Regions from separate parts of the Homo sapiens genome. Here region 2 is linked to region 1. Evidence: promoter capture Hi-C in 16 types of primary human blood cells and fetal thymus (Javierre and others, 2016). All regions are on one chromosome and are shown on one strand. Each heading gives the region's core, a stretch centred on a gene start or on the middle of the fragment in contact. The rest is flanking DNA. Distances are from core to core; before and after follow the strand shown. Region 1 holds the start of PSD (pleckstrin and Sec7 domain containing). Region 2 overlaps LDB1 (LIM domain binding 1).

Region 1 (4,843 bases), core at 472-2,971:
GCGCGAAGAAAGACTATATTTCCAACTGGGTCCCTTTCATTTCCTCCAAAGGTCCAGAGTCCTAAGAAGAATGAGAGCTCAGCTCAGCCCGCCAGTGGTAGTGCTTCTCGGCTGGCCTTGGGTTTAGTTGTAGGGTCTGGGGCTGGGTCCGCCCTGGGACAATGACGCCCCAGACCTCTGGACTCAGCTTCAGGGCTGCCTCTCACCGCGTCCCCAGGTCCCAGTCCCAGGATCCGCTTCGGGGAACCCCAGGAGTAGTGCCTTCCCCCATCATCCACGGGATGGGTGTGGGGGGATGTGAAGGACGCGAGAGCCACTGCACCGCTGACGGTCTGGCGCTCCGGTGCAACCGCTTCAGCTGGCTCATCACAACGAAAACCACTTCTCATCTGTTATCTCGTCAAGGCTTCGGGCACCTCTGAAAGGTGGGCAGGTCTATGCTATCAGTCCATTTTAAAGATGGGGAAACCGAGGCCCTGGAGAGGAAGCCCCTTGTCCAGAATCAAGCCAGACGGGAATAGAGAACCCAGACATCTGGTTTTCCCAGAATTCCTTCCACGTTTCCCCACCCCGCAAGGCAGCGAGAAGGGAGAAGCTAGCAGCGGGGAGAGACAAGAAAGGGGTCAAGTTAGGTGAGGGCTTGCTATCTCTTCTTCCTCAGCCTGCTTAGGGAGGGGGTAGCTGGGAGGACAGACCCCTGCAAAGATAGAGCCACGTGAGCGCGCACCACCTCCGGCCGCGCGCCTCGTCCCCCTCCCCTCTTTGTTCGCGCCTCTGCGCCTGCGCAGTGCGACAAATCTGGCGCTGTCCCCTTCAGCACCACGCGGAGTCCGCGCCGCCCCTCCCCGCGGTGAGCCCCGCGCGCCCCCGCCTCGCACGTCCTCGCGCCCCCTGACTGCCCGAACAGACCCCTTCTTCCTTCCGAGGTCACCATCTGCCCGCCCTGGCCCTCCCAAAGAGAGTAGTTGCCATAGTAACTCCAGCGGCTCTTTCTTAAAATAGCAGGGCCCCCTTCTACCCTGGCCAAGGGCACAAGGGTTGCCGGTCCCCCACGTCTTCCGGTCCCTAGTTCATCCCGTCTAACCTCTTACCCCTGGGCAGGCGTGACGACACCTAACTCAGGCAGCAAGGAAGTTCTTCCTGAAGTCTGATTTAACATCCCCCTGCTGCATCCTGGGAGGGTGGTCAGGGTTGGATCTCCTGGGTCCGAGACTCAAAACCCCTGGCGGGTTCAAGACGGTGTTCCCTAGATCTCCTTTCCATAGTTGATGGTCTCCTGGATTTAGGGGGCGGGTCCAGTCTACACCCATACCGTGTGCTTGGCGCGGCCGCGTGCTCGTGGGGGCGGGAGCGCGTGTGGCATGTAACAGGTCATGTGGCAGCCTCCTAGGGACACGCGTGGGGTCTGGAGCGGGACACGCGTGTGCAGCCGGGCCTTACGTGTGGCTCAAGGGGCGGTGGGCGAGAGAGACGTGGACACAAGTGGGGTGGGGCACGTGAGGGTCTGGGGAATAGAACCAGGGGTTCCATGCGCCCTCCTCCTTGTCTGGGGCGGGTCTTAGGTTGGCGGGAGAGCCCAGCGGGGACCTAGCGACAAGGGGGGCTGGCAGCCTCCGGGGCTCTGGGCCCTGGGAGAGGGCGGGGGGTGGGGGGGATTAGCGTTGCCTGAGCGGCGCGTAGGGGGTAGGGGGAGGGACTGAGAGGCGGGCGGGCCTGGAGCAAACGGGAGCCGCGCTGCCTTCACAGCTCAGCTGGGCCCAGCCTCTCCTCTGTCTCTCCTCGGTCTCAGCTCTGGGCGAGCAGCGGTGAGTACTGAGGTGGCATTGAGTTGGGGCTGCACCGGGTATGCGCTGGGACCCCGTTGAGCTTCCGGAACCTGCCTGGCAGGGTTGCTACTCCTGACCTCTGCCCCTCCCCTGCATTGCCACCAGAGGCCCCTTTACCTGGTTATGGTCTCTCCTGGGCGGGATCTGTCTTACCCCTGGGGAGAGAGGGAGAGGAGAGGAATATGGGTGCAGATTCCCCTCAAGAGACCCCAGTAGGTGGGGGGGAGGGGACGGTGTGTGTCCCTGCTTGAGTGTGTACATCTGTATGTGTACATCTGTATGTGTATGTGACTGTGAGCAGTAGGTCTCTGTGAGTGTCTGATACACCTGGACCTCTGTGTGCACTGGAGAATGACAGCTTGTGTATATATTTGGGTACCTCTTTGTGTGTTCCTGTTTGATGATGGTGTGTGTGTAAAACAAGCATGTGCCTTTTCATTACACACATACTTGTTATGACTGTGAGAGTGCATGAGGGTGTGTCTTTGAGCAGTGTGTGTGTGTGTGTGTCTGTGTGTGTGCCAGAGGGTGTTGCCTATGAATGTGTTTAACTGTGTACTGACATATTTGTCCTTATGTATGTGTGTGCGTGTGTGTGTGTGTGTGTGTGTGTGTGTGTTTGTGTGTGTGTAGGTGCCTGTCTGTACCTGTATGAAGAAAAGAATGTCCCTGGCCGGGTGCGGTGGCTCACGCCTGTAATCCCAACACTTTGGGAGGCCAAAGTGGGTGGATCCCCTGAGGTCAGGAGTTTGAAACTAGCCTGGACAACATGGTGAAACTCCATCTCTACTAAAAATACAAAAATTAGCCAGGCATAGTGCTGAGCGCCTGTAATCCAAGCTATTCAGGAGTCTGAGGCAGGAGAATCACTTGAACTTGGGAGGCGGAGGTTGCAGTGAGCTGAGATAGCGCCATTCCACTCCAGCCTGGGCAGCAGGGGCGAAACTCCATCTCAAAAAAAAAAAAAAAAAAGAAGAATGTCCCTTTCCCACTCAGTATGTATATATTGGGGGTAGGAGCCTCTGCTCAGGCTTTTCTCCCCACTTCCATGCTGTGCCTCTCAGCCCTTCAGCATCCCTATATAACACCTGTTCCTCTTCCCTCTCCTTCCAGGAGGCCTGAGTTTCCCTTCCCTGAGTGAGGGGCCTCCATAAGAGAGACTATAGGGGTCACAGGGCTGTATGATGGTGACAGCTGGCTGACACCCCTTTTCCAGAGGGTGGGGTACCAACTTCCCCTATTCTAGAAGTAGCTCCAAAGTGCCATAAGAACTCCGGGCTCACTCAACTTTGAAGTTGCTTCCTCTCTCCTCCCAGGGTGATGCTCAGGGCCTCAGGCAGAAGGAAAGGAGCCAGGGGCCCACTGGGTGTATAAGTCTTTTCTCGTCAGGCCTCTATGGAAGTAGTCCCCAGGCGTGGGATCAATGATCCCATATTACCAGGGTGTGCTAGGTCCCTGATACTCAGAGGCCCTAGCCAACTTTCCCTTCCCTATCTCTGCTGTCCTATCCATCTAACTCCTTGGCAGTTCACCCCATGCTCCCCTTCCTCTCTTACAGGCCTGTCTGAAGAGCATGCAGCCCCCTTACTCCCCGCCTGGCCTCGCCATCCCTGCCCCCCCAGCCTGACCCCCGGCCCCAGCATGGCCCAGGGTGCCATGCGCTTCTGCTCGGAAGGCGACTGTGCCATCTCCCCACCACGATGCCCACGCCGCTGGCTCCCCGAAGGCCCGGTGCCCCAGAGCCCCCCAGCCAGCATGTATGGCAGCACAGGCTCCTTGCTACGGCGAGTGGCAGGTCCAGGTCCTCGAGGCCGGGAACTGGGACGTGTGACAGCACCCTGTACACCTCTGCGTGGCCCCCCCTCACCCCGTGTTGCTCCCTCACCCTGGGCACCCTCTTCACCCACTGGGCAGCCCCCACCCGGGGCCCAGAGCTCTGTGGTCATCTTCCGCTTTGTGGAGAAGGCCAGTGTGAGGCCACTGAATGGGCTACCTGCTCCAGGGGGCTTGAGTCGGAGCTGGGATCTGGGTGGGGTTTCTCCTCCCAGGCCCACCCCAGCCCTTGGGCCTGGCTCCAACCGGAAGTTACGGCTGGAAGCATCCACATCAGACCCACTCCCCGCCAGAGGAGGCTCGGCCCTACCTGGCAGCCGGAACCTTGTACATGGGCCGCCAGCCCCACCCCAGGTTGGAGCAGATGGCCTTTACTCCTCTCTCCCCAATGGGCTGGGGGGCCCCCCTGAGCGCCTGGCCACACTCTTCGGAGGACCTGCTGACACTGGATTCCTGAACCAGGTATGCAACTTCCCCTGGGCTCCCTGGGCCCCCAGTGAAGGGGCAAGGCTCAGCCTCCTGTCAGACATGGGCTTGTCTGCTGTTCACTCTGAATCCTTTAATCTGTTCTAAATCTGCCTCTCTCTTGCCCTCTGTGTTTGTCTCTGTGTCTCTGAACCTCCATCTCTGTCGATGCATGTTTTAATTTCTGTTTCTGTCCCATATTCTTGTGTCCTTGTATGTCTGGCTTTATCTCTGGGTGCCTGTGTCTCCCTCGTTGGCTCAGGGGGATACCTGGTCCTCCCCCCGGGAAGTCTCCTCTCATGCCCAGAGAATCGCTAGAGCCAAATGGGAATTCTTCTATGGCTCCTTGGACCCCCCCAGCTCAGGTAAGGCCTGGGACTGAGGCAGGGAGAACAGGGCAGGGCCTTCCCCACAGCAGCTGAGGCTCAGTAGGGAGCCCTCCTTCAAACTTCCCCCAATCCTTGGAATTGGCTCTTGAGTCAGCCAATGTCTCCCCAGGCCTCAATCTTTCCATCTGCGCTATGATGGGAGGCTGGAGGATAGGACTGGGCAGGGCACCTGGAGGAAGCTGAGTAATGGAGGGAGGGGACAGAAGGATATTGAGGGGCATTCCATGGAGTAGAAAAGAGGCTCAGCAGGGCTCAGTGGCCCCAGTATTTTGGGAGGCCAAGGCAGGAGGACTGCTCAAAGCCAGGAGTCCAAGACCAGCCTGGACAACA
Region 2 (4,729 bases), core at 425-2,924, 300 kb after region 1:
CTACTCAGGAGGCTGAGGCAGGAGAATCGCTTGAACCCAGGAGCTGGAGGTTGCAGTGAGCCGAGATCGCGCCACTGCACTCCAGCCTAAGCAACAGAGCGAGACTCCGTCTTGGAAAAAAGATATATCACAGGTTGAAATGTGTATCAGGTAGTGATTTATGTGAAAGTGAGATGTGTTATTTATGTGGAAGATGTTCACAGAGCCAGGTGCAATATTACTGCACAGTTAACTAGTGAGTATGTCATAAGAAATCCTGTCCTTGGAGTTATGTGTGAATATAGTTGGGGGTAGGAGACAGGAAGTAGAGAAACAGACACTCAAATTGCAAAGAAGGAAATAGAAGGTTCGTGCTCCCCCTTCCCGTGTGTGTGTGTGTGTTTGTGTGTGTGTGTGTGTACTATGTATTTTCCTTTTCCTATTTGTCCACGAGTAAGGTCTGGCCCACTACCCAAGTTTTAGAAATATTCCCTCCTGCTACAACAAAATTACCTTAGGAAAAAAAATAGAAATATCTGCTCCCTTGGGATGCCCTGCTGGATGGGAGAACAGGTCCTATCCACTAACCACACGTTTTTTTTTCTGGGGTGGTGGGGAGGATTCAGCAGCAAACTAAGCTCCTTCTGGGGACCCTTGGATGGCCAAGTTGGCTTTCCCTAGCTCTGACAATGCCTCTTTCCCTGGCACCCACTTGTCTTCAGTGGTGGTGGGGAAGGGGGCTTCCTGTTAAGGGGGATCTAAGTCAAGGCTTGGAATTTAGCTGGGTTGGGGGCAGGGAAGCCTGGAGTGTCCCCCTTCCTCCAATCAGTGTTTACAGTCTGATGTCAGAATGTGTGTCTGTCAAAAATAACCCCCTGGAGCCTCTCCCCCCAGCTGCTCCAGGATTTCACCAGGGGAGCCCAGGCTGGCAGTCCGGGCCAGCCTTCAACCTGAGCGATCACAGGGGCGAGAAAGATTTGGGGGAGGTTTGGGAGGTGCTTTGAAGATCTTGGAGTCTGCAGAGAGGAGCCCGCCCTCCTCCATCTCTGCCAGTGGCTTTGGCCCACCTGCTCACTCCTGAGCACCGTGCCTGGGGCTCGGGGGAGGCGGGCTGCATTTCGTTCCTGGCCCCCACAGGCCTCTCCTCCATCCAGGTCTCTCCTGGCCCAATCTGATCCGTCCCCTGTCTCTCCCAGTCTCTGTCTCTCTTTTGTTTTTCTCAGCAGTCCCTCCGTCCCAGCCTCCCTCCCTCCCTTGCTCTTCCTCTTTCCTCTCAGGGAGGGGGCGGGGCCGGTGGGGGCAGCTCCACCCTCCGCCCGCCCTGGGGCCTCATTCTGAGAGAGGCTCGGAGAGAGCGAGCGGGGAGGGAGGGAGGCAGGGAGAGAAAGGGAGAAAGGCAGGCAGCCGGCGGGCGCTGCGTGTGTGTTTGAGTGTGCGAGTGTGAGTGAGTGTGAGTGCCGGGTCCTGCCTCTCCTGGTGCCCCCAGCAGAGGGGCCCGGTGGCCTGGGGAGGGCGGGCGGGCTGCTCGGAGGCAGAGGCAGCAAGAGGCGGCGGCGGGGAGAGCCGAGAAGGAGGAGGAGGAGAGAGGAAAGAGCGGAGCAGCCATTGTTGAGGGAAACCTTGCAAACAAAGAAGGCTCCGGACTCCCCGCGGCCCCCCGCCCCCCAGGCCGGCCCCCTGGCCCCCGGCCCCCGGCCCAGTGGCCATTGTAACTTTCCCCCGGGACAGCGGCCGCCGCGGGGCGGGCCGAGGCAGTGCGTGCGAGTCTTTGTGCGGCCGGCGGACTGGAGCTCCCAGTCGGGCCTGCCCGTCCCACTCGGGACATGAGCTGCTGAAGTTGTCCCCCCGTCAGCCCTCACCCCTGCCAGGACTCCTCTGGGCTTGCAGTCGCTCCCCCGTACCTCTCCTGGCCCCCTCAGTTCTCCCAGGTAAGTCTGGGCACCCTGCGAGCCTGTTGGGGGTGGGCGGAAGGCCCTCAGCCCGGCCCGGGCCTGATCTGCGGGCTGGGGGAGAGGTGCCCCAGCCCAGAGCCGCCGGGGCGCTCAGGCCTGCTGACCTGTGGCCAGTCCCTAAAGGGAGGAGGCCTGCCCTCGAGTCAGCCTGGTTACCATGGCAATACCCAGCTGGAGGTGCCCCCCTCAGCCCCGGGATGCAGCTTCCACCCTGAGAAAACTTTACTAGTTCTGGGCTCTTCTCTCCCCCTTCCTAAAGGCTTCCAATTTGCTAGAGGTGGGAGGGGGGCTATGGCTGACTCCAGGGCTGGATGACACATCTCCTCCGTCCCCCCACCTTGCTGCCTCTACTCCTGCTGCTGGGGACAGGCAGCAACAGGGACAGATGGTCTGGGTGATGTCCCTCCCCTTCTCTACTCACTCCCAAGCCCTTGTGCTGGAGCCACTGGGAGTTGTGGCTCTGGAGAGATGCTGAGTTTGTGTCCATTCACTGGAGGTGTAAATAGAGGCCCAGAGCTTTGGGCTCTAGCTCCTCAGAGCTATTTACCCAGGCCTAGACAATGCCTGTTCATTCTCTAGAGAGAGAAATGGAGGCTCTGAGAGTTTTTTTTTTTTTTTTTTTACAAAATTGGAGAGAAACCCAGGCGTCCTGCCTCCTGTCTCTTCAGGTTCTTGAGCTAACACATTTCAAGTGGCCCGGAAACTGAGGAGGCAGGGGTGGTTAAGCTATGGGAGAAAGGATGGCCTAGTTGGGGGATGAGGGCCAGGTCTGAGAATCTACTCTTGGGTTTATTGCCCAGGCCTGGCCTCTGGTGGGCTGTGTGAGTTTGGGCTTCCTGTGTGGCCTTAGTCTGCCTGTCTGTGGATTGGGGAGACTTGGTGGCTGGGTGGGGACTGTCTTTCTGGAGACACAGGCTCAGTCCAGACTGGCATGTGAAGGCTGTGTGTGCTGTTCTTGGAGCATATGGATGTGGCCCGTGAGAGCTCGTGCATGGGGTGAGGGCCTGTTGCGGGCATCTGAATCTGCCTGGGGCTGCTGGGTTCCAGCCCTTGATAGGCATGTTAGGGCGAGCTGAGGGTGAAAGCCTGCTAGGCAGGATGAGGCACACGTGTGTGCAGGCACACACAGGCTCTGACTTGGCATCTTCAGAGACTGTGCAGTCTGGGACCCTCCTTTTGCCTGCATTGTGAGGACAGGGCTCTGGGGAGAGAATTAAATGACACATGTTGGCACAGGGTCTTCTTTTGTCTCTTCCCCCCAAAGAAACAAAATAGGTTTTGTATCTAAGTTGGGGAGGAGATCTAGATACAGCCAATCTAGCTACCCTTCCAAATGCAGTCGAGTTTTAGGGACCCAAGGAAGCAAATGTGATTGGAGTCAGATGAACTTTTGGGCCTGTGCCTCAGTTTCCCCTCCTATCTGGTGAGAAGGGGAAACAGAGTTGCAGGGGTACCTGGCTCATACCCAACTATGAATTTAACACTTTTTCCAGTCAGAAAACAGTATTCCAGGAACTGTTTGCTGTTAGGTGAGGTGAGAGAGAGGACATGTGCACATCACAGATACACACTAGTGAGACCCCTGTCTAGTGACCACTTGCCCCTAGACTGAGGAACATAGGCTTCTTCCCAGACCACCTACTTCTCAATTGTAGGTAGAGTGGGATGCAAAGGAGGCTCATCTGCCTGCTTCCCCGACTCCCAAGTCTCAGAAGAGAAAAGGGGTTGAGGCTTTGGGTTTCTGGTTTGGAGACAATACTGTCTACCCTTGGGGGCGGGGGTGGGGGCTGGGCTGATAAGGGAGTGGCCGTTAGTGGGGAGGCAGAAGGCCCAACTGGTTATCTGGTAGGCCACACCCAACAGGCACCCACCCCCATTTATCTTTCCATCCCTTGCCCTCCTGAGACCCTGAGGGTGGAGGAAGGGCAGAGTTTGAAAATCCTCCCTTTTCCTCCCCCACTTTGGTCTCTAGAGGGCAATAGAGGGGTCAGATGGTAGAAAGAGTATAGGATGTGGGAATCAGAAGATCCAAGCTCAAGTCCTAGCTTTGACAGTTACTAGCTTTATGATCTTGGCAAGGTCCTTTGAGCCCTCAGTTGCCTCATCTGTAAAATGGGAATGTTATGGTCAGCCCTGCTACCTCATAAGGTTGTTTTGATGATTGAGTGAAAGTATGTAGATTAAAAGGGGGTTTATCAATATTAGATTCTAATGATTGGATATTTATTTATTCTGTAATCATTCTTCCCAGCTTCAATTCCTCTTCTGTCATCTAGGACTCAGCCAAATGAAGAAATGGGATCTTGGGTATGCGCTGGGATTAGGGTGGACTACTCTTGTTTCTTAATGAAATAAGATTGGAGCCAGAATTAGAAGGAGAGACAGGTGCTCCCTAGAGTAGCCCCCTCCCCTAGTCCACCACTCTCTTATAATCAGGCCAGGGAGCTCCATAAGACCGTCCCTATCCACACAGTCTAGCAGGATTATCGGACAGCTCCCAAGAGGGGGTCAGGGGACTCCTTTTTCTTTTTGAGACAGGGTCTCACTCTGTTGTCCAGGCTGGAGTGCAGTGGTATGATCTCCGCTCACTTCAGTGTTGACCTCCCAGGCTCAAGTGATCCTCCTGCCTCAGCCTCCCAAGTAGCTGGAACCACAGGCATGCACCACCACACCCGGCCAACTTTTCAATTATTTTTAGAGACGAGGTCTCGCTATGTTGCCTAGGCTGGTCCCTGCAGCCTCGACCTCCTGTGCTCAATCAATCTTCTTGCCTTGGACTCCCAAAGTGCTAGATTACA

What was found. The method cuts DNA at HindIII sites, captures the fragments that hold promoters and counts their contacts. A CHiCAGO score of 5 or more calls a contact.
Region 2: a fragment that was not itself captured here is called in contact with the fragment with the promoter of PSD in region 1 in 1 of 17 cell types (non-activated CD4 T cells); the score reaches 5.6 in non-activated CD4 T cells.

Annotation. Positions count from the first base shown.
Region 1 is chr10:102,415,663-102,420,505 of GRCh38, reverse strand. PSD (pleckstrin and Sec7 domain containing) reads left to right here and starts at 1,721. Exons shown (of 17, transcript NM_002779.5): 1 at 1,721-1,805; 2 at 3,385-4,121; 3 at 4,387-4,489. The coding sequence starts at 3,468. The HindIII fragment of the contact is 10,611 bases long and covers 1-4,843 here.
Region 2 is chr10:102,111,584-102,116,312 of GRCh38, reverse strand. The region is part of intron 1 of LDB1 (LIM domain binding 1); the gene reads left to right. Among named protein-coding and RNA genes, the nearest start is that of LDB1, 6.4 kb to the left of the region's middle. RefSeq lists silencers at 1,180-1,389, 1,500-1,649, 1,670-1,819, 1,870-1,959. The HindIII fragment of the contact is 8,794 bases long and covers 1-4,729 here.